Regions from separate parts of the Homo sapiens genome. Here regions 1, 2, 4, 5, 6 and 7 are each linked to region 3. The links are contacts of gene promoters, found by promoter capture Hi-C in blood cells and fetal thymus (Javierre and others, 2016). All regions are on one chromosome and are shown on one strand. Each heading gives the region's core, a stretch centred on a gene start or on the middle of the fragment in contact. The rest is flanking DNA. Distances are from core to core; before and after follow the strand shown. Region 1 overlaps LOC105373760 (a long non-coding RNA gene). Region 2 overlaps LOC100130691 (Putative uncharacterized protein FLJ44553). Region 3 holds the start of IFT70A (intraflagellar transport 70A). Region 4 overlaps LOC100130691 (Putative uncharacterized protein FLJ44553). Region 5 overlaps LOC100130691 (Putative uncharacterized protein FLJ44553). Region 6 has its middle 7.0 kb from the start of MIR4444-1. Region 7 has its middle 6.5 kb from the start of NFE2L2.

Region 1 (3,287 bases), core at 466-2,965, 480 kb after region 3:
GCAGGGAGCTGGCAAGGCTGTGAGTCAGAACTCTCCTCTCAGGAACTGAGCAGAGAGATTCCCAGCATCTGTTTCCTCAACTATCACCCAGAGGATACTGGTGGTAAATCACAGGGAATAAAAATAGCCTCAGAAGTCTAGTTCCAGACAAATAAGGCATGCTGGATATTCGATAGTGGTTTGGGGTCTCAAAATTCTTCATTAGCTAAATAACAAATATATTATTTTTTACATTAATGAGCATATTCCTTACATTGTTCACCTAAATGTTGAGCACAACCTTGGCATTTCTACTGACGTGAGTTGAAGTATTACCTAAATTACATTATGTTTGATGTTACAGTCTGAACCATTTAGTGTATAAAGGTGGGTCTACAATCAATAATCACAAATGTTAAAGCTTTATTTTAGATACAATAAAACATTTATTTCTAAGATGTTAAAAAAAAACCCATAAGCTTCTTACCATAATGTCAATTGCCAATAGATTGATAAGATCTTTCTGCATTTTGACTGCAGGAAATTTTATGGCTAGAATCTTACAATTTACACAACTTACAGTCTTTTTAGGTTATATTTCACATATAAGAAAGTATTTTTTAGGTCTGCCTAGAAATGTTGTAATTTGATATTAAGTTATAGCTTAGATTTTCAACAAAAACAGCAGCTGTAATAGATGAGATTAGCAAGTGGTGAAAAGTTCAAAGCATTTAATGGAATTGATCTACTAAATTAGCATTGACAATTTTTAGTGGCTATCTTAAATATACATTATTATCATGAAAGAATTAGTCCAATTAAGCCTTTACATTTGGAAGATGCCCAGTCTGACCTTGTTCTACTCAATGTGAAAAGTGAGAGGGTCTTTGGGTTTATTTAAATTTGGTGTTAAATCAATTGGTTTGGGGGACCTTTTACTCCTTTTTGGAATGGAAGAAAAACTCAAAGGCTATTTATAGTGACAAATGGGTTATTAGAACAGTTAATATATTATATTATAATTTATAATTATAAATTATAATTAATATAATATATAACAGTTTTTATATTGCAAATAAAAAATGATGACCAGGAGTTGCTCTGAACCTATTCTGGTTTAGGGAGCTGCCCAGCTAAAAAAAAAAGAAAAAATAATGATTGAAGAATAGAACAAAATAATATTTGATACATAGGTGAGAATCAATTAGAGTGGGATTCTTTTCTCACAATTTCTTACTAAAGCCATATTTACTGGGTATACTGGATGTATTTTGGAACTGAAATAATTATATTGTATTTAATATCAGGTTTTATTTAGAACACTCTCAATTAAGAAATAACCAGCTAATAAAAAAATAGAAATCTATGCAAATATACATGAAGAAATAAGTATGGGATTTTCCAGAAATCTAATTTCTATACATCAATAGTATATTTTATATTCTGTTGATACAGACTTCTATGATAACTTGAACATAAATATCATGAAAATAAAATTGAGTTTTGAATTGTCAGTTTAATTGTGCAAACTCTCTGATGATGGCTGGTTACTCATTTATCATGAAATTGTGGAGTCTTGGCTCTTACGTAAGGGGCTTGGTTGAAAGGCCAGCTTCTTAATTCACAGCGGCTTATACGTGAGTCTTCATTGGAGCTCAGGAGCTAGCTCTTTTGTGAAAGCATTTAGTAAAATATATTTTAGTTGAGGTTTTTTTTTTTTTTCTGTTGTTATCCATTCCAATATTTAATGGTCCATTTCCCTAATCTGGGCTTCTAACCCAGACACTTTTGGACATTTTTAATAGAAAAAGATGTCTTTTGCGTAAGATTTCTTCAAAAAGAAAATTGTAACTAATTTACCCCCCAGCTTTCTCTTCTATAAACGGAAAAATCCAATTCTCATTTATCAACTCCCCACCTTTTTAAGTTCTCCTCTGAATGCTCAGCAAATTATTCATATCCATCTTTAAATATAGCACTCTGAGGGGAGTTTAGTGCTTTATTAAGGTATCTGAGGAAGATGGGAGATGATCTCATTTATTCCTGAGGATGTATTGAAAAATCCTCTCTCTGCCAGACTCTGCTAGGTGCTGGGAATACAGTAAGATTTAACAAAAACCTTGAGGGAGAGAAAGATTTGCCAACAAGTAATGGCAATACAACATGTTAAGTGCTAACATGGGTGTAGACAACATGCATTTGTCTGTCAGTCCTAATTCGGTATTCATTGTCAAAACAGTATTTTAAACTGCTACAGCAATGCCTACTGACAGTCATATTTCTATGCAAACAATTTCTAATTAGCTCCTGTAATTCAGGTGTGTACTTTGAACACATTTTTCCATACTACGTTTAATCTACATTTTGTTTCTTATTTGTACAATTTTATCTTAAATTGTTATTTTACCTTCTAAATTTCATTTTTTGGCCTCTTCTGTCTGTTATTCGGGTTGATATCAAAAACACCATTTGTCGTCTCCTCAATTTGAATGCTTTAGTTAGAACTCCCCAGCCAATCTATAGTTAATGAATCAACAGTTGTCTGTTCCTGGTCTATTTTCCTAGCATGCCTTGTAGGAGAGAATCAAAAGCCTTCCTAAAGTCCAGCTTAGGGTTCATCAGTTAATTTTCTGTGATCCATCAGGCCTTCCACTCTGCTATGTAATAGGATGACTGTCTATTATCTACATAGGACAAGTTCTTTGTGAAGCTATATTGATTATTAATGATTGTGTAATTAGGTACGCTCTCAAGAGTTCTGGTTATTTTGGTCCTTTTTTGAATCTCTAGGCATCTACTCAGTTCTCTGAATATTACACAAAGGTAGGGACAATAATTTTGTACCACTCATTCAGTGTTGTCAAATGGAAACAAATCAGAGCTGGGGCTATCAGAAAAGAAGTGGGCAAGTCATGCATCCTGGTCATCGTCTATCACATGTCAGCATTAGCTTCTGCATAGTGCAGCACTGATCATGGCATGATGCAAGCTTTATTTGGTCACCATGGACAAGTATTCCCCTTTTATTGATTTGTAATACACCATTAAGCTTCATTGTAATAAAATTGGACATGATAGATAGCAAAATGATAAAAACCACCTGTAATTCCCCTAACTAGAGACTAGCATTGTTAGCAGTTTGGTTTACACATGCACGTTGGTGTATGTGGATGTGTGTGTGTAAAATGTGTATAATAAACATACATACTGTTTTGCATCAACCCACCTTTTTCACTCAGTACTACATAGAGTTCATTTTTCTAAGATAATGCACATCATATAACCATAGAAATTCAACTTTTCAGTAT
Region 2 (3,346 bases), core at 486-2,985, 320 kb after region 3:
AAACTTAAAAAAAAAAAAAGAAAAGAAAACAAGACCCAACAATCTGTTGCCTACAAGAAACACTCTTCACCTATAAATACACACATAGGCCTAAAATAAAGGGATGGAAAAAGATATTCCACACAAATGAAAACCAAAAAAGAGTAGGAGTTGCTATATTTCTATCAGATAAAATAGATTTCAAGAGAAAAATATAAAAAGAGACAAGATTATTATATAATGATAAAGAGGTCAACTCAGCAAGAGGGTATAACAATTGTATATGCACTCAACACTGGAGTACCCAGATAAAAAAAGCAAATGTTATTAGAGCTCAGGAGAGAGATAGACCCCAATACAATAATAACTGGGGACTCCAACACCACACTTTCAGCATTGGACAGATCATCCAGACAGAAAATCAACAAACATCCAACTTAATCTGCACTATAGACCAAATAGACCTAATAGATATTTACAGAACATTTCGTCCAACAGCTATAGAATACACATTCTTCTCCTCAGCACATGGATCATTCTTGAGGATAGACCATATGTTAGGCCACAAAACAAGTCTTCAAAAAATTTTTTTTTTAAATTAAAATCAGGCCAGGCATGGTAGCTCACGCCTGTAATCCTAGTACCTTAGGAGGCTGAGGCGAGTGGATCACCTGTGACCTATTCATATAACGGACACTACATAACAAGGAGAATGAAGGAACTAAAACTTTGTGCAATCACATGTATGAATCTCACAAACATAATGGTGAGCAAAGTAAGCCAGGCACAAATGAGAACACATTATATGATTCCATTTATATAAAATTGAAAATCAGACAAAATAAATCAGTGATGTTGGAAGTCAGGATGGTGTTTACCTGTTGGGATGGTGGAGATAGTAGTGACCAAGAGGAAGGCACAAGAGCTACTTTTGGGTGGTAATATTGTTCTTTTCCTTGATCATACTCACATAGGTTACATAGGTGTTGATTTTGTGAAAATTCATTGAACTGTAAACTTACCTACTTTTCTGCATGCATGTTATCCTTAAAAAGTTTACTAAATTACCTGTACATCCTTATGATAGGAAATCTAGAAAATAGAAACTATATAGTGTTAAAAAACAGTTTTCAAAATAAGGAAACATTATGACTGTCATATATAAATATAAAATGAGCACATCAAAGATTTTATTTAACTCATTAATTAATGAGAAAACCAGTAAGGTGTTATAGCTGGTTCAAATGGATTTGATTTACAGAGATCTATATTACCTGCCAGACAAAATTTATTTGCATTGACATGAACAGGGATCATTTCCAGTTATAACAGGAAACATTTGCATTAATGTCAATTTTCTACATCTTCACCTCTTTCTCTACAGAGTTATAAATAGTCTAATCAAAGACTAGTCAAAGACAATGAAAGTAGAAATGAATGGATGCACTAATTAGGATACCCACTACATTTCAAAGGTTTTAACATTTTTACTTACAATAGAGTAAAATCAAAACAACCTGTAATCCTTCTATTCAGGAGTAATCTATATATACACAATTTTGTGCCATATTTTTAAATATTACATAAGAATTGTCTTATATCTAGAGCAAAATTACTTAAGTAAAATTTTTAGAAAACAACTTTTCATATTGAGTACAAAGGTTTTTTTCCCCTTTGTTCTAAAAATCCTCTGTTCACATTTCTGGTTATTTCCTTAACATATTTTCTTAGAAGGAAAAGTATTGGATCAAAAGATATGACCATTTTTAAGACTCTTGATACATATTGCCAAGTTGTTGTTGTGGTGGTTGTTGTTGTTGTTTTGTTTTTGAGACAGAGTCTCGCTCTGTCGCCCAGGCTGGAGTGCAGTGGCACAATCTCAGCTCACTGTAACCTTTGCCTCCGGTTTCAAGTGATTCTCCTGCCTCAACCTCCTGAGTAGCGGGACTACAGGTGTGTACCACCACGCCTGGCTAATTTTTGTATTTTAGTAGAGATGGGGTTTCACCATGTTGGCCATGGTCTAGAACTCCTGACCTCAAGTGATCCACCTGCCCAGCCTTCCAAAGTGCTGGGATTACAAGTGTGAGGCACTATGCCCAGCCTTATATTGCCAAGTATTATAGGAATACTTTGCAGCACATAATTAGGTTGGAGGGTGAGAGGAAGCAAAAATCTTTCTAAGCTACTTTCATACTCCCAGAATTACTCCTGTCCGTAAGATTTCCAGGAGTAAAACATGTTTATAGTTTTGCAACTACCCACCATCTGCCTTTTTCTCTTCCTTTGCTTTTGGACTTTGAGCAAAAACCCAGTACTTGCCTAAGGAAAAAGTGTGGGTTGGCACAGCAAACCACAAAAATCTCAAGTTCTAACCAAATTTAAGGCTGCAAGATGCCTCCCTGCACTGATGGCTTCATCTGTATTAGGTTATAAATCCCTTGAGGAATTTTCTAGGACCCAATTCTAGCCCTACTTCCCGTGTTTACACATATTTTCTGATCTGTTTTGCCAGTATTGATTTAAAATATTTTGACAGCCGGGCGTGGTGGCTCACGACTGTAATCCCAGCACTTTGGGAGGCTGAGTCAGGTGGATCACGAAGTCAGGAGATCAAGACCATCCTGGCTAACACGGTGAAACCCTCTCTCTGCTAAAAATACAAAAAATTAGCTGGGCATGGTGGCACACGCCTGTAGTCCCAGCTACTAGGGAGGCTGAGGCAGGAGAATCGCTCGAACCCAGGAGGCAGAGGTTGCAGTGAGCCAAGATAGCGCCACTGCACTCCAGCCTGGGCGACAGAATGAGACTGTCTCAAAAAATAAAATAAAATAAAATAAAATAAAATAAAATATTCTATAAGCCACATATATCTAACCATGAGACCCAACTTAATTCAACTATTCTATCAATTGCCTACTGAGTGCCAGGAACTGTGGTGTACTAGGCCTAGAGTAAGTCGTGAGCAAAACAGACTTTTTCCTGCTATAGGAGCAGAAAGGTGTAGTACCTTTCTTCATCCATCATAAGCGTTACAGTTGACACTCCTATAACAAAAGACAGATTAACAAGAGAAAAGCATAACAAATTTATTTAACCAAAGTTTTACATGAAATGGGAGCCTTTAGAAATGAATAGCCCCCCTCCCCCAAAAAAAAGAAATGAATACCCAAAGATGCAAGGAAAACTGTGTTTTTATGCTGAGGCTCGATGAAGAATGGACAGCCATGTAGAAATGTGACTGGACAAGAGAGTATGATCTTACTGTAATAGACTGAGGAGGAAACCCAGCAAGGCCTGCCTTTCTGTTTAGGTTCTTCTGGGTCTCTTTATGTAGCATTCCTTCCTCCTGAGTATGGGTAGGACC
Region 3 (3,236 bases), core at 528-3,027:
AAGACTCTAAAAGGGTGCACCAAGAGATCAGATTGAAAGAAGCCTCAGAATAGAGTTATAGTAATATTCCACAGTTGCTTTCTGTGGGGTCTTAGGTGAGCCAAAGTCCCATTCAATCCTGAAATGGGTGCAGTTTCCCTTTCTTGGAATTGATGCACTGGGAAGCTCCTTGTCTAGTTCCAGCCAAAAAGACCCAACTCTGCCAATTCCTGGCAAGGGAGAAGACTGAGTAAGTACATAAAGTCAGTCATATGATGATATGAGCAATCACACACCTACTAAAAATCTCCTTCCAGTGATACTGGGTAAATACGAACTACACAACTCCAGTAGTCACATCTGCTCACAGCTGGAATCAAGGCCTAGAAGTTCAAAGTTTACTAACTACACAAAGTTAGTTCATTGTTTTAATGGAGAAACAAAGACAATAATATTCCTTATACACACTTAGCACCAAACAATGGGCCCTTACAAACTCACGTACATGAGATACATGGATTGGGTTATTCATCAGTCACTATTTCCTATTGAAATTGGTTATTGGATATCATGGTTCAGCCCCTACCTACCTAGATGTGGCTTTAAACAAACTATTAATTTAATAGTTTGATTTAATTAATGTAATACTTAAATCTTTAAACCTTTCTAGCCCACAGACTTCTTAAACTACAATATGCAGAATGCAGGCTGCTTATTCAAATTAGAAATACTATATGTAAACAGTCTCTAATAGAGGTGCTATATGATATGGTTGACATCGTTATCAACCGTATGATAGCTGTGAAGTTTATATACAGAAAAGATTTATGGGCAGTAACACTATTATGGATGCATACAAAGGATTTGCAGTAATTATGTAGCAAACAACACACTTTTACTTGGATTAGGTTTATATTAGGTGCTAGAGAGACCAATGGATATCATGGGAGATGACAAAAGATACTGATTTCTTATTGGCAGAGACAGTTGGAGGACCACAGCAATGGATACAACCAAGTGTAAACGCCAACATATACTCAGTAATTTTTTTTTTGTCATGGAAAAGGAGAGATACTGCGATCAAAAACAGATCCTCTCCCAGTACCAATTAAGATTCACAGCACTTTTTCCTTATTAACCTCTGGAAACCACCAAAATAAGAAGGATTTCTGTTTGCTGCTGTATTCTGTTCTTACAAACTGTGCCCTCGGGGTAGCATAAGAACCTGCTCTAATTCCAAGGGAATTCAAGGAGTTAACTCCCTTTTGCCATCCCGCTCCTTTTATTAAAAGGTCCTTTTATTGTACTGACGATCTCTACTTTATTAAAAGTAAGCCAAACGCCAGCATTAGTATAGACCACACCAATGCACAAGGCTCAAAATCGCCAGAACATGGTGCCGGAAATCTTCCTCCGATTCGCTAGAGACCGAGGTGGCACAACAGACACAGAGAGTGCCCCTCATCTTTAGGGGGCAGGGAAGGCGAGTGACCGTGCGTCCACACGGGCCGCGAGTCGGGTCGGTGCAACAGGGACTACGCCTCCCAGCATGCAGTGCGGCCACGCCTGCGCAGCGGCGCCACAGGAACGATGCATGCCGGGACCGGGAAGATTCAGTCTCTGAACGGCCCGGAGTAGTCGTCTTTCCCCTTCTGACTGCCGCCACGCTGCAGTCCAGAATATTTGAAGATCAAACCGAACTTGAGAGACTAACGAGAACGGTCCCTTTTTATTCCTAACAGATTCCTTCCGTGGCAAAGTAACCCGTCGTCTTCCGTTTCCGGTTGCCCGGTTGCCCTGTTGCCGTGGTAACCGCACGCATAACAGCCGTGGTGGTTATGGCTGGTCTGAGCGGCGCGCAGATCCCCGACGGGGAGTTTACCGCGCTAGTGTACCGGCTCATCCGCGATGCCCGCTACGCCGAGGCGGTGCAGCTGCTGGGCCGAGAACTGCAGCGGAGCCCCAGGAGCCGTGCCGGCCTGTCGCTGCTAGGCTACTGCTACTACCGCCTGCAGGAGTTCGCGCTGGCGGCCGAGTGCTATGAGCAGCTGGGCCAGCTGCACCCGGAACTGGAGCAGTACCGCCTGTACCAGGCCCAGGCCCTGTACAAGGCCTGCCTTTATCCGGAGGCCACTCGGGTCGCCTTCCTTCTCCTGGATAACCCCGCCTACCACAGCCGGGTCCTCCGCCTGCAAGCTGCCATCAAGTATAGCGAGGGCGATCTGCCAGGGTCCAGGAGCCTGGTGGAGCAGCTGCTGAGTGGGGAAGGGGGAGAAGAAAGTGGAGGCGACAATGAGACCGATGGCCAGGTCAACCTGGGTTGTTTGCTCTACAAGGAGGGACAGTATGAAGCTGCATGCTCCAAGTTTTCTGCCACACTGCAGGCCTCGGGCTACCAGCCTGACCTTTCCTACAACCTGGCTTTGGCCTATTACAGCAGCCGACAGTATGCCTCAGCACTGAAGCATATCGCTGAGATTATTGAGCGTGGCATCCGCCAGCATCCTGAGCTAGGTGTGGGCATGACCACCGAGGGCTTTGATGTTCGCAGTGTTGGCAACACCTTAGTTCTCCATCAGACTGCTCTGGTGGAAGCCTTCAACCTTAAGGCAGCCATAGAATACCAACTGAGAAACTATGAGGTAGCTCAAGAAACCCTCACCGACATGCCACCCAGGGCAGAGGAAGAGTTGGACCCTGTGACCCTGCACAACCAGGCACTAATGAACATGGATGCCAGGCCTACAGAAGGGTTTGAAAAGCTACAGTTTTTGCTCCAACAGAATCCCTTTCCTCCAGAGACTTTTGGCAACCTGTTGCTGCTCTACTGTAAATATGAGTATTTTGACCTGGCAGCAGATGTCCTGGCAGAAAATGCCCATTTGACGTATAAGTTCCTCACACCCTATCTCTATGACTTCTTAGATGCCCTGATCACTTGCCAGACAGCTCCTGAAGAGGCTTTCATTAAGCTTGATGGGCTAGCAGGGATGCTGACTGAGCAGCTTCGGAGACTCACCAAGCAAGTACAGGAAGCAAGACACAACAGAGATGATGAAGCTATCAAAAAGGCAGTGAATGAATATGATGAAACCATGGAGAAATACATTCCTGTGTTGATGGCTCAGGCAAAAATCTACTGGAATCTTGAAAATTATCCAATGGTGGAAAAGGTCTTCCGCAAATCTGTGGAATTCTGTAACGACCATGATGTGTGGAAGTTGAATGTGGCTCATGTTCTGTTCATGCAGGAAAAC
Region 4 (2,993 bases), core at 14-2,513, 260 kb after region 3:
TTGGCCTAATGAAGTGGACAAAATGCTACCAAAGTTCCTCAGACTCTGAAATTCTGTAATTTATTGTCACCAAAAGTCAAATGCCTAGACCAGTGTTGATCATTCTCATGCTGAGAGTAATTAGTGAATTTGTTCAGGGTCTGGGGGGACCCCAATTTCAAAGCAAATGGAAACCAGAGATGGTTGTTCTGTCAATCCAATTGTCACTTTATAGTCCCTAAATACCAAAGGCTAAGCTTTGGCAAAGTTGGGCAGTAAAAATCTACCCTTACTGCAAATCTTTCTCCTTTTGATCCTTCTCTCCCCAATCAGTTCTATTTCAATCCAGAAAGTCAGCAACTTTGAACTTTCTCTTCCGTCTGTGAAAACCTATTGGTAAGTGGTAGATATTTACAGCTTAGTAAATACATAAGTGTTTCTAAATATCTAAGTGTTTCTCCCAAGGATATTTATGTTAAAGTTTTATATCTAATTTTCTAATAAAAGTTTTTTCTCCCTATTGAGGGAATTGTTTTCCATTTATATAAAATTATTTTAAAATTATTTGTATAAATTTAAGGGGTACAAGTGAAGTTTTGCTAACATGGATACACTACCTCCTGGGGAGGTCTGGACTTTTAGTGGAACCCTCACTGGAATAATGTTACAATGTACCCATTACGTAATTTCTCATCCTTCTTCCCCTCCCCTCCCACCCTTCTGAGTCTCCATTGTCTATTCCACACTCTAAGTTCATGTGTACACACACTACTTAGCTCCCACTTATATGTGAGAATTTTATGTTTCACGATGAGTAGGTGGAGAAGATGTATTTAGGGAGTAAGACAGAGGACTTTCTTAGGTTCCCTAAATTCATACGAGATATGGGGAACCTTTGTCCAAGAGTATTTTCAAATTCTGGAACAATGAGGATTATGTCTTTAATATGGGCCTTTCCCCAAACACCACTAATAAGGACCTCTTCCTCCCTCTACTTGGAGCTACATTTGAACATAGTTTTTAACAAGTTACAAAAACACTACCCCCAGTTACTACAAGCCCTGAATGAAATGTAATAGCCAAGAATCCTTTTAAGGATTGGGTGCTGGGATTGTTTGCTTTCTCTTCTCTCTTTTCTTTTCTTTTCTTTTTTTTCCTTCGACAGGGTCTTGCACTGATGCCCAGGCTGGAGCCCAGAGCACAGTGGCCTGTTACCAGCTCTCTGCAACCTCTGCCTCCTGAGCTCAAGCAATCCTGCCTGAGTAGTTAGGACCACAGACATATGCCACCATGCCCAGCTAATTTTTATATTTTTTGTAGTGATGGTGTTTCACCATGTTGCCCAGGCTGGTCTCAAACTCCTGAGCTCAAGTGATCCGCCTGCCTTGGCCTCCCAAAGTGCTGCGATTACAGGTATTAACCATGTCCGGCCTTGCTTTGTTTCTGGTTTATAGTGAGACTGAAAAAATTTAAGGAAGGTATCTCAATTTAAATGAATTACTAATTGAATGAGTGATACATTTACAGATAAATGATTCTTCTACATCAATGCTGTCCAGCAGAACTTCTATGATGATAGAAATGTCCTATAACTGTGCTGTCTAGTGGGTAACCACTAGCCCCATGTGCACTAGAAAAATGGCACTTGAAAGTCAGAAACTGAATTTTTAATTTTTATTAGCTTTAATTAATTTAAATCTAAATAGCTATATGTGGATAATGGACATCATATTAGTTAACACAGTTCTAGATGATTCTGTGCAGAGGCTGGTTGGTTGCCAAATATATTATTCTGACCCTGACAAGGGAACCCCATCCAAGTAGAGTGATTCACCTTTTTAATCTCAGGTCTATTATATTAGTTATCAAGACCAAGGCTATTGCTATTAACAAATGAGAAAATCTATAGAATTGCCATGGAAACCCTATTGGAGAAACACAGGTTTCCATGTCAACCCCTGTCTAGGATACCGCTACAAAATGCCCTATAAGCAAAAACTTCTGAAACCACAATGTTTTCTGACTAATGGAATTAGGAGACTGCGACTTTTGTCCATTGTTCTTAGGCAAGGCATTTGGGGCCCTTCCAAGAAGTAGTCTGAATATCTGTTATAAGGAAAGAAAATGATACAGTGTCTAAAGGCCCTTGACTGAAAAATTTGTTTTTTGATAAATATGTTTTTATCTAAAGGCTCTTTGTCAGAAATCCTTCCTTGGGATTATGCTTGCTGACTTTTCTGATATGTTTCTATTAAGAAAAAAAAAAAGAAAGAAAAGGAAAGAAAAAGCAGAAAAGATGAAAGAAAGCTTCCCATCAGTGTTTCAAATAAAGAAGTTTATGATGAGATGTTACCATTGACCCTTAATTTCTGCCCCGTTTGAAACACTAAGGGAGTCCAACCATTGTCCATGCCCCTTTTGGAATGGTTGTGATTTCCAGGGCCTTGGTTAACTATTACTCCTAGCCCAAATCCTGGTGAGCTCCACTAGCTGCAGAGGCCACCATTTGCAAGAGCAGATATGCAGAAGATCCCTGGCCAGCCTCCTCATACCTACCTTCATTGCTATGTGGAGACAATAGAATCATTAAAAGTTATGGGCTGGACATGGTGGCTAACACCTGTAATCCCAGCACTTTGGGAGACCGAGATGGATGGATCGCTTGAGTACAGCAGTTTGAGACCAGCCTGGGCAACATGATGAAACCCTGTCTCTACAAAAAAAAAAAAAAAAAAAAAATTAGCCAGCCTTCATGGCACATGCCTGTGGTCCCAGCTACTCAGGAGGCTGAGGTGGGAGGATCACCTGCGCCTGACAGGTCAGGGCTGCAGTGAGCCAAGATTGCACCACTGCACTCCAGCCTGACAGAGTAAGACAATATATCAAAAAAAAATTTTTTTCATAGACCAATGGAACACAATACAGAACCCAGAAATAAACTCAAATACTTACGGGCAACTGATCTTTGACAGAGCAAAGAAAAACATAAAGTGGGGAAAGGACACCCTTTTCAA
Region 5 (3,295 bases), core at 698-3,197, 280 kb after region 3:
TGTTTTAATTTCAGCTGTTTTATCTTTTTTAAAAAATCTAGCAGTTAAAATCCTCCTTCCTCTCAAATGGTTGTCTTTTTTTCTTGACTCTTTTCAGTTTAACTTTTCTCAAGGAACTTCAGAACTCTTTTGTAAAGTTTCAAAAAAAATTCCATTGGCATTTCCATTGGAATTGTATTATATTTATGAATATATTTGGGGAATAATTAAAAAATTTTTAAATGCCGAGTGTTCTTATCCAAGAACATGGTATATCTCTGTTTAAGCCTTGGCAATTTTATAGTTGTCTTCACATAGATTTGACATACTTATTAAGTTTATGTTTTTGTTATTCTGGTAATTACAATTTTTTCCACTTTGTTTTCCTTTAAAAGAGTTTCAAAGCCCCCCTTTTGGACCACAGAAAATCTTAACGTGTTATAACCTAACTATGCAAATAGCTCTGTGATTCTAATTTCTCTTTTAAGCAATATAAATCATTGAACTACATTCTTCCTATGTTTATCCAGCTTTCCTTACCAAATTAAATCTCATACTTTGTAGTGTAAATTTGAGTTTGAAAGTTAAAGGTAAAGAATGTTTTCCAGGGGACTAAAACAGGAAAAATACTGTCAACAGAATTGAATAAATTGGAAGATGGAGGCCACTGCGCTAGTACTACAGTGCCCCCTAGTGGAAAAAAGGAAGCATGGGCATGTTTATACCAAGAATGACCCCAGTCTCTCTTCCACAGGCAATTAGAATCTGGAGGTGTGTTAGTGGTCAACTAGGTCAACTCCTCTGGCTTCCAAAAAGGGAAACTGAGAAACAAAATGAAGAAATGACTGGCCCAAATTCACATTGTCAACCCAAGGCTTAAATCCAAGATTCCTAACTCTCATTTTTCTTCCTTTTTGCTACCCTTTCTTTTTTCTTCCTTCCTAGTTCAAAATATATTGTGCTCTTATTATAAAGCACAATATATTCTAGGAATGTGTTCTAGGAATACAGATATAAAGAAGATTTAGTCGTTGCCTTCAAATCTAGTTTTACTTCAAGCCTAATTTTTTTAGCCATTTTCAGGGAATGAATTTGTTGGGGAATGACCAAACAACTATGCAGGGGAAGGTTCTCAATCATCCACAAATTGACTCACAATATGATTAATTAATTATTGAGTTTTAACTGGAAAGTACAATCACAAATGTGAAAATTGCCCTTGATCAGATTCAGACCATTTCATGAGGAGGTAAGGCATACTTTCAAATGGCCTGCATTAACCTTAATCTTATTTCTCCTTTGCAGATTCAAAACTGTGGACTATCTTGCAAAAAATACAAGAAGATATTGAAAGTTTTCATGAGTGCCTACCACCTAATCTCAAACACTATCATTCATATGTGCCTCATTGAGCAAATCTTTAATGAGGATCTATATGCCAGGTATGTGCTAAGCTCTGTGCTTAGTGTGGCAAAGAGAACAGATATGGCCTTGAGGTTTCTGCTCTCACAAAGCTTATAGTCTCCTATTTGTGTATGTGTAATTCTCTAAAGCTCAGGAAAGCTGTTTTCCTCATTTTTCTTTGGCATCATATTTTTAGGCTATAGAAATCAGAAAGTACGCAAACATTTTCTAAAATTACTCTGCCCCACAAAAAGGGAAACAAAAATAACAATTTGGGGCCAGACAGAACTGGATTTGAATTCCAAGCCTGCCCTTTACAAGCTATTAAACAAGCTTATTCTCTGAGCCCCTGTTGTTTTCATGAAGTGGAAATAATATGTATCCCTTGTAAGGGATCATATCCTTATTAATACCTAAATAGAGACATTACTTTTTGAGTCAAAACTATGAATTATATGGTCCATCTCCTAAAATGCAGAAAAATTATCTAAAGAGAAGCATTATTAATATTGTTCACTTAGTTTCATCAAGAATGTCACTTTCCAGAATTAATACAGACAGATATTCTTTGCCATTGACTTTTTCTTTTTTTTTTTAAATAAGGTGAAATGCTCTAACAATGGATGCCACTATAACAGAGTTTCTGTAAGGCTATTAGTTTCTTTTTCCATGGATAGTTTCCATGGCCTTGCTCCACATAAACTAAACCCTATTATTTCAGTTATGATGACTAAATCTAGTATGACCATTATTTATCTGTATAAGGGATCTTGTAGTAATCTGTGTATAAGCTTATCACTCCATCTATTTAATGATTTGACTAAGTCAAGGATCATATTTTATTTCTCTCTGTTCTCCCCTCCCAGTGGTACCTTACACAGAATTAGAGCACACTAAATGTGTTCTGAGTAAAAAGACTATCTTACTATGTGCTGTTTGACATGTAAGCTGAGAGAGAAAATTTGGCATATGTTGTAGGTAAACTTACTTTGTTTTACCTGGGAGTAGCAAGTATCAAACAGATCCTACTCCTGTTACAATCCTGCTAGAGAAAAAAAGTAGTTAAATTCCCCAGTCTCTACTCAAACCAAAACAAAACTTCAAAAATATTGAGACACAGAGAGAAGGAATAGGATGGGGTCAGGGAGGACTGGTGTTTCTGCGTAGTGTGCATGCAGCAGGCTAATGTCCTTTCCCTGTTGTAATAGCTCCGAATGTAAGCGCCACACAACACCAGGTCTATGAAAAGCCCAGGGTTTCAAGGTCAAACAAGTTTGGGAAAGCTTGCCCAGCATTTTCCTCTCTTGCAAGCTGGCAGTGGACACTGGTAAATTAAAGCCTATAAAAACTGCTTAACATTGTTTTACCTTGCAATCCCCAAATTCATTTGACCAACGTTTCACCTATAAACATCCCGCAGATCTGGTAGATTCTGTGGAAGGCACAGACTTCAGGAAACTGCTCCACTGTGTTGAAAGGACTTCTTTCTCTTGTTAATTCACACACAAAAAGCTGCCATTTTATTTCCAAATCCTACAGAACTGGGAATGTGAGCATTTCCAGCAATGTTTCAACTGTAGAAAAGTGAGACCACTTTCTGACAATTTAGAGGTCCCAGAAAGTTTATACAATTGAATTTTAGGTATGTAAGGAGTCAGTTCGAATCCAGGAAATGGCTTCCCAGCAATGCCTGGAATGTCCTCACAAAAACTGAGAAACAGATATCCAAGTCCTGTTTTGGATCTTGGAGGGACAGAGAGAGAGAAGAGAAAAACATAAATTTATAGTCCCAAATCTCATGATGTTTCTTCCAGTTTTCTACAAATAAATACACAGTATCCACTTTCCCTGAACTCCATCTTGGGACTTTATTTTTGCGTGTTTCCAATTCTCCTCTCTAGATGGCAGCACA
Region 6 (3,279 bases), core at 535-3,034, 410 kb after region 3:
GTACAGTGCCCTGTCTAGAGCAGGTACCTGGTCTCTTTTCAGAAATTTATTCACTTGCCATCTTGTATTTACTTCCACTTTCTTGTCAGCACTCATTTCTAAAGTGTTCCTAATCTAGTTTCTGTCACAGGCTGCCACTCATTTCTTAAGTGTTCCTAGTTTCTGCCACAGGCTATCGAAATTGTTTTTCCAAGGTCACAAATGATTATCTGTCAAATTAATATCCCTATTCTTAAATGTTAATCCTTCCTGACCTAGGGATCAACATTACTGCCTGTTCATCCTTTTTTTTTTTTTTTTTTTTTGAGACAGAGTCTTGCTCTGTTGCCCACGCTGGAGTGCAGTGGCACGATCTTGGCTCACTGCAACCTCTGCCTACTGGATTCAAGCGATTCTTCTGCCTTGGCATCCCAAGTAGCTGGGATTACAGGCATGTACCACCACACCTGGCTAATTTTTATATATTTTTATTTGTTATTTTTTGAGTTGGAGTTTTGCTCTCGTTGCCCAGGCTGGATTGCAGTGGCGCGATCTCGGCTCACTGCAACCTCCGCCTCCCAGGTTCAAGTGATTCTCCTGCCTCAGCCTCCTGAGTAGCTGGGATTACAGGCACACGCCACCATGCCCAGCTAATTTTTTGTATTTTTAGTAGAGACAAGATTTCATCATGTTGGCCAGGCTAGTCTCAAAACTCCTGACCTCAGGTGATCCACCTGCCTCAGCCTGCCAAAGTGCAGGAATTACAGGTGTGAGCCACCACACCCGGCCCTGTTGCTTCTTTTTGATGTTTTCCTTTTTTGTCTTTATTAAGGACATTGGTTTTTCCCTTTAGTTCATCACTGCTTCCTTCTGGATCCTTCCCTTTTTCGTTTTCTCTCTCCTCTTGTTTCCATAAGGTTTTGTCACACTGAGGTATAGAACTTCCTGAGAAACTTTGTGAAATGCACCCATTGTTCTCCTACGAGTGGCCACTTTCCCTGGGAAAAGTATGAGGTGGTGTAAGTGCGTGAGAACTCTCAGGGGATTTGTACATGCCTCCTAGGAAGCTAAAGAAGAGGTTAGGCCTGATTAGTGTATTTGTTAAGATGACAAGATATATCACTTCCTTCTCCCAACACACACACACACACACACACACACACACACACACACACACACACACCACAGTTGAATGATTTAGAGATTGAGGAGGTAATTTGATACAAAAAGTATTAAGGAGTCATTCACAGGGACTTACGTTCTCTTTCAGACAAATCCCAATTTGGAAGTCTGAAAAGGCTGAAATCTTTTTAGTAGGTGCTTTACAAATGACTTTCACATAAAACTTTGATTAAATTAATTAGTTACACTTTTCTCTTACTAACTTGTCTTCTGTTATAAGAGTGTTGGCCATGACCCTTACAATGGGTAAGGAAAGGTGTCACACCTCCACTTTTTTCCCCATAAAATTGACCTTTTGAAGAGATCAGGACAAATGAATTTGTAGGATGCTTTACATTTTGGGTTTATTTGATTGTTTTCTGCAGGTGCGATTTAACTAGATTCTCTGTCTCCTTCATTTCCTATAAATTGGAAGGTTAAATCCAAACTCTTATTAACTTCAAATTAATCAGGTTGAGCAAGAGTATATCAGAGGTGATGATGTGTAGTTTAGATTGTTGTGTCACATTACGCGGCACACAATATCAGATTGTCCCGCTATTTGTGATGTTAAATTTCATCAAAGTGGTAAAACCCTCCTTTGTAATGAGAAGGTCATCTCTGAGGTGGTACTTTGGTCCCATGCAAATATTGGACCCCAAAACAACCTTTCCCATTATGTGTTAGCATTTTTGATCACCCTTGACTGAATTATTATTTCATTGGGGATGACAGAATGATGACTTTTCTAATTATATCATTTCTTCTACATTTATTAGCTAGCATTTGTAAACACACACACACACACACACACACACACACACACACACACACAAAATGTCTCTTCACCAACTGGGAATGAACTACAATTCCTCCTTAAAAGACAGGGTAGGTACTTTAATTACCAATTTTCAGAATAAGAAGTTAGTATAACAGTCACCTTCAAAGGTGGCAAATTATCTTTTTTCTCTCTCTCTCTTTGAGTATCACTATAGATTCATGGGTTTTTATTTATTCACTGTTTTATAATCAATTGCAGTCATTATTCCTTTTGATATTTAAATTGCCCCAAATTTGGCCTCTATGTCCTTTTGAGTTCTCTGTCAGGTGCATATGAATTTTATTAATCAAAACAAACTCTATATGGTGGAATTTAGGCAACATTTGGAAGAGATTTGGGGATGAGGAAAGGGACAGAGTGGCCTCTAAATAGGTAGGCTATCACTGCCAGCAAGATTGTCCTTGGAGTCAGCCATCGTAGGCACATCTCGACCTGGGAGTCTTTTCTTCCTTCACATTTAAGCCCCAGATTTACAAAAAAGCTCCATTGTTTTCTGTAATTAATTGGCAGTGAGAGACCAAAATTACTGTATGAATGTTTGGCTCATTTGTAAATTAAGGCCTGCTTATCTGTGTAGGAATGGTGAAGATAACTGTAACCCAAATGTAATTCATTAAAGGGAAATACTCATCAGTAGCAATATCGGATATTAAATGAGGAAAATATGTTAGTATGTAGTGACATGAGACTTCTGACTGAGATGTGAGCAAGAAAACAGATCCACGGGACCCTCCACACACAGAAACTGAGCTGTTCTGTGCCTTGTTCGTTTGTGTCCTGCTGAGTTCACATTAACAAATGAATCCCAGAATCTTAGCTCTCCCTGGGAGATCTATGTCTTAAGAAAATTTCTTGTGACAATAATACCTTAACCCAAAGCAAACATTTTCAAATGGTGGGAATAAGAGTCAGTGAAGCAAGTCAGTGGAAGAATTTGATTTTGGACAGAAACTCTTTCAGCAAGTCACACCATGATAGCTCCTTCCAATTCTGCTGTACAGATCTCTGGCCCAGGCTGCAATCTTACAGCTATATGGCTGTAAACAAGGTAGAATGTAGAGATTAAATTACCTGAGCGACAGTTAGGAAATCTCCTTTCTTGTGGAAGCAAGGACTAATGCTTTCATATTGTTGTGAGTCTAGTAATGCTCAAGAGATATTTAATGTGCGAAATTTAAATAACACTCTGGGCTGGGCGCAGTGGCTCATACCTGTAATCGCAGCACTTTGGGAGGCCGAGGCGAGAGGATCACTTGAGGTCAGGAGTTTGAGACCAGCCTGGCCAACATAGTGAAACC
Region 7 (3,174 bases), core at 157-2,656, 350 kb after region 3:
CCTTCCTCTCAGTCAATGTATAGAAAGTATTACATTATGTATTAAAACCTCAGTGCCATGACAAGATAGTCAACATCTTTAGTCATCAGAAAAATACAAATCATAACTACAATTGTGTGTGTGTACTTATCAAATTGTGTACTTTATATATATGTAATTTATTTTATATCAATTAGACCTCATTAAAGCTATTTTTAAAATATTATGTGAATTTTGCAGAAAATGAAAAGAGAAACCCCTGACCTCAGCTATCAGGTTGGCTACATTAACTGCCTGCCTCTTTTGCATCATCAGCTACTTCCTGGCTATGGGCAAGTGTGATGTTTTTTTACTGGACTGTAAGGACCTTCAGAGTAGAATCCATGTTTAACTCAACTGAGTCTTCCTTCAAACTCTCTCACTAAGTATTCAACTGTTGTTTTTTAAATGAAACATAAATTGCTTGGATAGTTTTTGGTGAAACATTTCAGAAAACATTTCTACCTAAATTCCCTAATGAACCTTTACGATTTTTTGAACTATGCATGGGAGGCAGCATATCTTCATGCTTAAGAACTTTAAAGTCAGTGATTTGTTCAGCTACTTACTAACCACCTGACCATAGATAAAATTATCTCACCTCTCCAGGCCTCAGTTTGCTCATTTCTAAAATGGGACTGTAAAGGACCTGTCTTGGATTTTCTGAGAGGATTAAATGATATAACCCATATAAAGTACATGGGCCATATTTAGCACTCAATAAATACTTGTTGTTTTTGTTGTGTTGTTATTGCTTTCCATATCCCTAATATATTGTAGAGAAATAAAGAATCTAAAAATTCGGGTTATTATGCATAGTAAGCATACAAGAACTGTTAGCAGGGAAAAAGACAAGTGAATTAATACACTGACCGTTACAAATTTTTGAAAGTTTACGAACTCCAAAGACTGAAATATTCCATCTTTCATCAGGAGAAAGAAAACGTGATGAACAAGTTACCTGAATCTTACAGGAGGGATAGCTCTAAACTGACATTAAAGTTACCTGCATATTAGGCTTTTTAGAATCACACAATTAGAGAAATTTAATTTATTGGAAGAAGCAAAAGGGTTTTAACACCTTATAGTCTTCTCAGTACATTTTGATTCTTGCTCTTAGACCTTTTCATTAAATAAGAAAAATTAAAAACCTGCTGGTACGTAGAGAGGCTAAAGTTGCAAACAGCTCATTTACTTTCTCCCTACCCTTCACACTGAAGTTCTTAAATGCAGAAATCCTGTTCTCCTATTTGTTTGCAAGTTTTCTCTCTAGTGAAAAATACTTCATCATTTTGTCCTTGGGGAATTCATTAAACAGAATGTGGAAAAATGTAATCTTTAGGGAGTTTTGCTGTGAGTACTCTCAGTAAATACAGCACAAGCCAAGAGACTCTACAGAGACCTGACCTAGAGTAGACGAAGCCTGGGCCATTGTCAGATAATCATTTCCTTGAGCTTTGAGGCAGTCACTTAATTGTTTTGTCACCTCTGATTTTTGTAATATTGGGCCTAATTGCATCTCCCTGATTTGTGGGGAGTGTTTATAAAATATGTACAATAATTATTATCATTAATAAACTGGATTATTAATCCCCTCCAAAAATAATGTGCCAACATGTCAATAAAATTTACACCTTATCCTTTAAGTCTGGCCCAGTACTAGATTTGCCTTTAAAAGTCCAAGTCAGCCGGGCGCCATGGCTCACGACTGTAATCCCAACACTTTGGGAGGCTGAGGCAGGTGGATCACCTGAGGTCAGGAGTTCGAGACCAGCCTGGCCAACATGGTGAAACCCCGTCTCTACTAAAAAATACAAAAATTAACTGGCATGGTGGTTCATGCCTGTAATCCCAGCTACTGGGGGGCTGAGGCACGAGTGTCGCTTGAACCTGGGAGGTGGAGGTTGCAGTGAACCGAGATCATGCCACTGCACTCCAGCCTGGGCAACAGAGTGAGACTCTGTATCAAAAAAAAAAATTCCAAATCAATTTGTTGTATGCGAAGAACATAATACCATGAGTCAGGAAATGTTATTCTATTTCTGGTTCTGCCAGTAGTTACCTCTGTGGTCATTAGTAACCACTTCACTCTTCAGTTTCCTCAAATGTAAAAGTAGGAATTTGGACTATATCAAGGAAGAAACATACCTGATATGTGCCACCACTCATAATTCTGTGCCCATGGCAGACATTGTTAATCAATCATTGAACTTTTTCTACCAAATTGGGAAGCTGTTTTTGAATACTTTTCAGCAAAGCACTGTAGGCAGCCACTACCAATGTATCAGAATTGGCAATCAAAGTGAAATTTGCTTCCCATCTCCGGGCCAGAAGACGTCTAAGGTTTTTTTTTAATTCTAATATTACTCAAAGGGCAAAATGAGAGTCCATGGAATAGAAAGTGTCAGGAGACAATTATGTTGGCAAATCTCATTTCCCTTTTTTATTTTCCAGCCTCCAAGAATGTTATAGATTATCTGTAAGGTCTGTTTATGAGGATGCTCTGCTCTTCCATTCGTTGTAGTCTGCTTTTTGTTTGTTCAAAGTGGAAATAGTTTAATTGTTTTTATCCCTTAATTCTAAAAATGCTTTCTGTAAGGATTTGAATAATACAGAAAAATACAAAGATGGAAATGAAAATTATCTGATATTCTACTCCCATTATTAATATTTGAGAACTGTCCTTGAAGACATAGCTCTAGGCATAATGTTTTTCTGTATTTTATTTTCCCCACAAAGCGATGTTACGTTTGGGCTACTTTGCCTGTTACTGAGAGGCTGCAGTTCTTAATCTCTATTCATAAAATTTTGTCTTTGGTAATTCCTGTTCTGCTGAGTTAAACGTTGCAAATATAGCAGTAAATTGGAAGAGAAAGGATCTTTAGAACCTTACAACAACTACACTTAAAGATGTGGTAAAATTCTCCAGGCTCCACTCAAATAAATACAAAATGGAAAGATTTACAAAGCTTGTGGTTATAATTCAATTTGAAAATAAAACAGATCCAGTGGCATGGGAGAAAAGCAACGTTCTTTCCTTACTCCCACACCCTACTCCCACCTTTTTTCTTCTTCTTATAAAAGTAATGTATGCTGGCCAGTCACAATGGCTCATGCCTGTAATCCCAGCACTTGGGGAGGCTGAGGCAGGAGGAC

What was found. Contacts are between HindIII fragments. The CHiCAGO score rates a contact against its expected background, and 5 or more counts as called.
Region 1: a fragment that was not itself captured here is called in contact with the fragment with the promoter of IFT70A in region 3 in 1 of 17 cell types (neutrophils); the score reaches 5.7 in neutrophils.
Region 2: a fragment that was not itself captured here is called in contact with the fragment with the promoter of IFT70A in region 3 in 1 of 17 cell types (neutrophils); the score reaches 5.3 in neutrophils.
Region 4: a contact is called between a fragment that was not itself captured here and the fragment with the promoter of IFT70A in region 3, in 1 of 17 cell types (neutrophils). The highest score is 6.2, in neutrophils.
Region 5: a fragment that was not itself captured here is called in contact with the fragment with the promoter of IFT70A in region 3 in 2 of 17 cell types (total B cells and fetal thymus); the score reaches 6.9 in total B cells.
Region 6: a fragment that was not itself captured here is called in contact with the fragment with the promoter of IFT70A in region 3 in 1 of 17 cell types (monocytes); the score reaches 6.6 in monocytes.
Region 7: a fragment that was not itself captured here is called in contact with the fragment with the promoter of IFT70A in region 3 in 1 of 17 cell types (neutrophils); the score reaches 5.1 in neutrophils.

What each region holds. Positions count from the first base shown.
Region 1 is chr2:177,140,340-177,143,626 of GRCh38, reverse strand. The region is part of intron 1 of LOC105373760 (a long non-coding RNA gene); the gene reads left to right. Among named protein-coding and RNA genes, the nearest start is that of MIR4444-1, 71 kb to the left of the region's middle. The HindIII fragment of the contact is 2,510 bases long and covers 461-2,970 here.
Region 2 is chr2:177,297,432-177,300,777 of GRCh38, reverse strand. The region is part of intron 8 of LOC100130691 (Putative uncharacterized protein FLJ44553); the gene reads left to right. Among named protein-coding and RNA genes, the nearest start is that of MIR6512, 15 kb to the left of the region's middle. The HindIII fragment of the contact is 5,312 bases long and covers 1-3,346 here.
Region 3 is chr2:177,617,283-177,620,518 of GRCh38, reverse strand. IFT70A (intraflagellar transport 70A) reads left to right here and starts at 1,777. Exons shown (of 1, transcript NM_152275.4): 1 at 1,777-3,236. The coding sequence starts at 1,818. It overlaps IFT70A-AS1 (IFT70A antisense RNA 1), which reads right to left. Exons shown (of 3, transcript NR_198966.1): 2 at 2,999-3,218; 3 at 1,281-2,231. RefSeq lists an enhancer at 1,475-1,704. The HindIII fragment of the contact is 8,599 bases long and covers 1-2,953 here.
Region 4 is chr2:177,355,086-177,358,078 of GRCh38, reverse strand. All of the region lies in intron 1 of LOC100130691 (Putative uncharacterized protein FLJ44553), which reads left to right. Among named protein-coding and RNA genes, the nearest start is that of AGPS, 36 kb to the left of the region's middle. The HindIII fragment of the contact is 2,050 bases long and covers 239-2,288 here.
Region 5 is chr2:177,332,519-177,335,813 of GRCh38, reverse strand. LOC100130691 (Putative uncharacterized protein FLJ44553) reads left to right here. Exons shown (of 9, transcript NR_026966.1): 3 at 1,285-1,421. Among named protein-coding and RNA genes, the nearest start is that of MIR6512, 20 kb to the right of the region's middle. The HindIII fragment of the contact is 458 bases long and covers 1,719-2,176 here.
Region 6 is chr2:177,204,105-177,207,383 of GRCh38, reverse strand. No RefSeq gene overlaps it. Among named protein-coding and RNA genes, the nearest start is that of MIR4444-1, 7.0 kb to the left of the region's middle. RefSeq lists an enhancer at 2,233-3,195. The HindIII fragment of the contact is 6,068 bases long and covers 1-3,279 here.
Region 7 is chr2:177,269,615-177,272,788 of GRCh38, reverse strand. No RefSeq gene overlaps it. Among named protein-coding and RNA genes, the nearest start is that of NFE2L2, 6.5 kb to the right of the region's middle. The HindIII fragment of the contact is 3,167 bases long and covers 1-2,989 here.